Linked DNA regions of Homo sapiens: region 2 is linked to region 1. Evidence: promoter capture Hi-C in human tissues and cell types (Jung and others, 2019). All regions are on one chromosome and are shown on one strand. Each heading gives the region's core, a stretch centred on a gene start or on the middle of the fragment in contact. The rest is flanking DNA. Distances are from core to core; before and after follow the strand shown.

Evidence for each region. Contacts are between HindIII fragments. The study calls those that stand out against the background at their distance.
Region 2: a contact is called between a fragment that was not itself captured here and the fragment with the promoter of TRIM4 in region 1, in 1 of the 25 tissues and cell types used here (H1 embryonic stem cells).

Annotation. Positions count from the first base shown.
Region 1 is chr7:99,918,218-99,920,934 of GRCh38, reverse strand. TRIM4 (tripartite motif containing 4) reads left to right here and starts at 1,405. Exons shown (of 6, transcript NM_033091.3): 1 at 1,405-1,926. The coding sequence starts at 1,534. LOC101927610 (a long non-coding RNA gene) reads right to left here and starts at 1,332. Exons shown (of 2, transcript XR_001745296.3): 1 at 1,108-1,332. RefSeq lists enhancers at 1,034-1,143, 1,384-1,463, 1,494-1,543 and a silencer at 1,674-1,833. The HindIII fragment of the contact is 5,230 bases long and covers 1-2,717 here.
Region 2 is chr7:99,606,577-99,609,293 of GRCh38, reverse strand. TMEM225B (transmembrane protein 225B) reads right to left here. Exons shown (of 6, transcript NM_001195541.3): 4 at 2,400-2,546; 5 at 1,484-1,621. Among named protein-coding and RNA genes, the nearest start is that of ZSCAN25, 9.0 kb to the left of the region's middle. The HindIII fragment of the contact is 8,768 bases long and covers 1-2,717 here.

The DNA.
Region 1 (2,717 bases), core at 156-2,655:
ACTTAGGTAAACATATAGACACACAGATGCCATAAACACTCATGGTAAACATCAGTAACTGTTAAGAGCATTCCTTCCTGCTTGGTCCCTATTAAAGAACCAGATCCCTTCTCCATAGAGTATTCCAATTTGCAAAGAAAATCCATTCATTAGTTGTCCAATTTAAATGTTTTAGAAATATTCAGTGGAACTTTCATCAATAACCCCCAAACAGATACCTCAAGAACCCCTTTTTCTAATCATTTAATCATACTACTTACTGAGAAAAATTATTATAGGAAAGGCAGTATTTGATATTGGGACATAAAAAGAATGAAAAATCTGTTAAATAAGCAAAAGCCCATTAGCCTGAGGCTGTCTTGGTACTTGAGTTCCCATATAACAAAATACAACCTGACTTAGTATGTAAACGAACTGAAGCCTAACTTACTTTATTTTTTATAACAGCTGGGTTTCAGCCAATCACGGCCGAGCTTCAGCAAATAACAGACAGCCAACTGATCAGACCATGCCCCAATAAGGCAAATGCCTCATCATATCATTGTCAAATAAGGCAGACACCTAGATGTTAGCTAATGAGGTGATTTCTCTACTTTGCTTCCTATAAAAGCTAGCAGGTCATACTGCTGGACAGAGCTCTCTGAACCTCTTTTGGTTCTGAGTGCTGCCCAATTCATGAACTGTTCTTTGTGCAAATAGCTTCTATTAAATTTGTCAGTCCAGAGTTTTTTTTGTTTTAAACAAATATTCACAAGAAAAGGAAGAAAGTGGGAAGAATAAAAAGCAAAGCACCTCAGAAACACAAGATCGAAAATCCACTTAAGGGATATAGATAATTCCCTGAAACAGGTGAGCATATTATTTGTTGAAAGCCTCCATGGATGTTCTTTGGGATAGCAAAATGGTTGCTACTTTTCAAATTGGATACCAAAAAGGCAATGTATCTGCATCTCAGAATCCAAATCATCCCCACGTTAGCCAAACTCCAGGCCTACCAACACAGATCCTTCAAGTCTTCCTGGCCTTCCAGGCCCCTAGGCTGCAGCTCGCCCAGAACTCCTGGGACTCTAAAACTTAAATCGGTCTAACCAGCAGGCGAACACAGACCTGAACCCTCAAACTTGGAAAGAAAGATCATAGGCACCTCCCCGGTTGGCTCCCCCAGGGACCACAACGTCCGGCTCTAACGCCTTGCCCAAGTCCTCTGTAGCTTTCCACAGGCATTTCTGGGTCTCTATAGCTGTTTGGAGGAGCCACTCACCGGTCCCGTCCTGCCCCGCGCCTAGGCCTGAACCAACCCCCTCGCGGTTCCGGCGCGGATACCCAGCAGCTTCCGGTCTTGCGCGCTCAGGCCGGGCAACGTCCGTGCGTTCTTTTTGGGTCCTGAACCCCGGAAGAGAAACTGCGTTGTACCCTTTTACGTGAGGCGGTGACGGCGGTTCGGAAGTCGTCTGGCCTCCCCGCGGCCGCTCGCAGCTTGCTGGCCTCTCCCGCGCCTCACGTCGGACTCCGTCTCCGCGGCAGGGAAGCAGCATGGAAGCTGAGGACATCCAGGAGGAGTTGACCTGCCCCATCTGCCTGGACTATTTCCAGGACCCGGTGTCCATCGAGTGCGGCCACAACTTCTGCCGCGGCTGCCTGCACCGCAACTGGGCGCCGGGCGGCGGCCCGTTCCCCTGCCCCGAATGTCGGCACCCATCGGCGCCCGCCGCGCTGCGACCCAACTGGGCCCTGGCCAGGCTGACTGAGAAGACGCAGCGCCGGCGCCTGGGCCCCGTGCCCCCGGGCCTGTGCGGCCGCCACTGGGAGCCGCTGCGGCTCTTCTGCGAGGACGACCAGCGGCCAGTGTGCCTGGTGTGCAGGGAGTCCCAGGAGCACCAGACTCACGCCATGGCACCCATCGACGAGGCCTTCGAGAGCTACCGGGTGAGCTGGCCGTCGCGGTGACTATGACGGGGCTGTCAGTGTTGCCCGATAAAGTTTACTTAATGCTCCTAAAAGAGCCACGAAGTGGCTGTCATTCCTACTGGAAGCATGAAAAGCCCCTGAAACTCAAAGAAGTTAAGCAAAACACGAATTTCAGAGCTAGGGTTAAAACTGGAATGAGAGGAGGGGAGGTGCAAACCTCAGCAATCATTGTGCAGAATTTTCAATAAACTGGCCCTTGGGGAGCTCATAATAAAGAAAAACATACTGAGAGGGTGTGTGCCGCTGCTGTCCAATAGAAACCACATATGTAATTTAAAATCTTTCTGGTAAGATAAGGAAACGAGGTGACGTTAATTGTAATAATATATTTTATTTAATCTGATTACCCCAAATATTCAAAGCTGAGATGAAAATTATCAATGAGATTTTTTTTTTTTTTCTGAGATGGAGTCTCACTTTATTGCCCAGGCTGGAGCACAGTGGCGTGATCTTGGCTCACTGCAACCTCCTCCTCCGGGGTTCAAGCAGTTCTCCTGCCTCAGCCTCCCGAGTAGCTGGGATTACAGGCACACGCCACCACACCCGGTTAATTTTTGTTTTTTAGTATAGAGGGGTTTCACCATCTTGGCCAGGCTGGTCTCGAACTGCTGACCTCAAGTGATCTGCCCCGCTTGGCCTCCCATAGTGCTGGGATTAAGGTGTGAGTCACCACGCCCGGCCTCAATGAGATATTTTATACTCCTTTTTCATAATAGGTCTGAAATTGGTGTGTATTTTACATTTACAAC
Region 2 (2,717 bases), core at 99-2,598, 310 kb after region 1:
AGAATTCATGGAAATCATGGAAAAATGGAATTAAAAGGTTAAAATATAAAATATTGTAACTCTATTTGGTGAAGGGGAAATTAAGAAATAAAAGCTTAAATATGTGGTTTTTTGTTTGTTTGTTTTTTTGAGATGGAGTCCCGCTGTTGCCCAGGCTGGAGTGCAGTGGTGAGATCTCAGCTCACCGCAACCTCCACCTCCTGGGTTCAAGTGATTATCCTGCTTCAGCCTACTGAGTAGCTGGGATTACAGGCACGCACCACCATACCCAGCTAATTTTTGTATTTTTAGTAGAGATGGGTTTTCGCCATGTTGGCCAGGCTGGTCTTGAACTCCTAACCTCAGGTGGTCCACCTGCCTTGGCCTCCCGAAGTGCTGAGATGACAGGTGTGAGCCAGTGCACCTGGCCATATATACACATATATGTGTGTGTGTATATATATATATATATATACGTGCACACACACACATATATGTATGTCTATATACATATATACACACATACATATATATGTGCATATATAAATATGTGTGTGTGTGTGTGTGTGTGTGTGTGTGTATATATATATATATATATTTTTTTTTAACTAGCTGGCCATGGTGGCACATGCCTGTAGTTCCAGTGATTCAAGAGGCTGAGGCAGGAGGATCGCTTGAGCCCCAGAGTTGGAGGCTGCAGTTGTACCACTGCACTCCAACCTGGGCAACAAAGCAAGACCCTATCTCTTAAAAAAAAAAAAAAAAAAGGTAGAGACAGAAATAGATAGCCTAAGGAACCAGGATGGTGGAAGGGAGACTATAAAAATTTGAAAGAGTTTAGTTCTAAGTCAAGAAGGATAAGAACAGGAAGGCCAAGGATGGGGTTGAAGCTCCAGAGCAGTGCTGTCAGGTAGAACGTTCTGCAGAGAAGGAAATTTCTCTGTCTGCACTGTCCAATATGACAGTGTCCAATAGCCACTGGACATATGTGGTTATTGAACATCGGTGATGTGGCTAGTATGGCTGAGGAACTGAATTCATAACTTTTTATTTTATTTTAGAGATGGAGTTTTGCTCTGTCACCCAGGCTGGAGTGCAGTGATGTGATCTCGGCTCACTGCAACCTCTGCCTCCTGGGTTCAAGCGATTCTCCTGCCTCAACCTCCCGAGTAGCTGGGATTGCAGACATGTGCCATCACGCCCAGCTAATTTTTGTATTTTTAGTAGAGATGGGGTTTCACCATGTTGGCCAGGCTGGTCTCAAACTCCTGGCCTCAAGTGATCCACCCATCTCGGCCTCCCGAAGCACTGGAATTACAGGTGTGAACCACCACATCTGGCCAATAACTATTTTAATTAACGAAAGTTAAATAGCCACGTCTAACTGGCAGCTGCGGTTTGGAACAGTGCAATTCTAGAGAATCCAAAGGGAGGGCCTCCACAAGACAGGTTCCTAAATCCAGACCGAGGACAAGAAGCAGGGCACTGTTCCCTGGACACTCACCAGCCACTATGAACAGAAAGATGCCGAAGCCCAGCACGTAGTAAGGCCACAGCACGGAGAACTGCAGGGGGCCGAGCTTCATCCTCAGAGCCTTGATCTCCAGGGCATGCAGCACCAAAGCCAGGAAGGCACAGGCCCCTGGAGGGTCACAGGGAGACACCCTCGGTCTCCTCCCATGCTACCCGCCTTCCCTCCAAACTTCACCCCCTGTGGCTCCTGCCTGGAGGCTCCTTCATCCTTGCCCCCTCTCTGAAACAAAACTCCTACCCAGATGCCTGTCCCTCCCTCCTTTCTGACTCATCTTCAAAGCCCATGTGCTTTACCTTCCAGGGAACCATCATCAGAACTCCCTTTCCTAGCACCCTCTGCATCTGCCCTTAGCTCACCTCTGCACCTTAGCAGAGGGTGCAACACTTTGGATTAAATGCAATCCCATTTTCCTACTGCTCTACCTCCACCATTTGCCTAGGAGCCTCTCAGGGTGGAGCCTGGGTCACCCTTTATAAATGTCAAAAGGGGCCAGGTGCAGTGGTTCATGCCTGTAATCTCAGCAATTGGGAGGCTGAGGCAGGAGGACCGCTTGACACCAGGAGTTCAAGGCCAGCCTGGGCAACATAGCGAGATCCCCATCTCTACCAAAAAAAAAAATGTTTAAATTAGCCAGGAATGGTGGCACATGCCTAGAGTCCCATCTACTTGGGAGGCTGAGGTGGGAGGATCACTTTAGCCTGGGAGGTTAAGGCTGCAGTGAGCTATGATAGCACCACTGCACTCCAGCCTGGGTAACAGAGTGAGACCCTGTCCCTAAAAAGAAAAATTATGCCTCTTTTGACATCACAGAGACTGAGCACCCCTCTTTCTCTGGACTCCTCCCCAGGCCCTAGCGAAGGTCAGGGATCACCTAGCTGTTCCACACCTGTGAAGAAGCTGATGCAGGCTAACACAAAGTTTTGCTTCCAGGTCCTCGGGAAGAACTCGGATGCAAAGGGCATCATGATGAAGGTGGTGACGAAAGCCAAGAAAACTGCAGAGAGCAGGAAAACCCGGCCGAGGATGATGTAAACTGCAGGGGAGGGAGAAGTGGGGCTGAAGCTGGGAACCCTGACCCGGAAAGGTCAGAGTCCCTCAGAGCCTGGGCAGGGCTGGCCCCCGGAGCCTCCACCACCCTTAGATCCCAAAGCATGGCCTTGGGACCAAGGTTGTGACCATGCCACTTTGGCCCCAAGAATGCTTT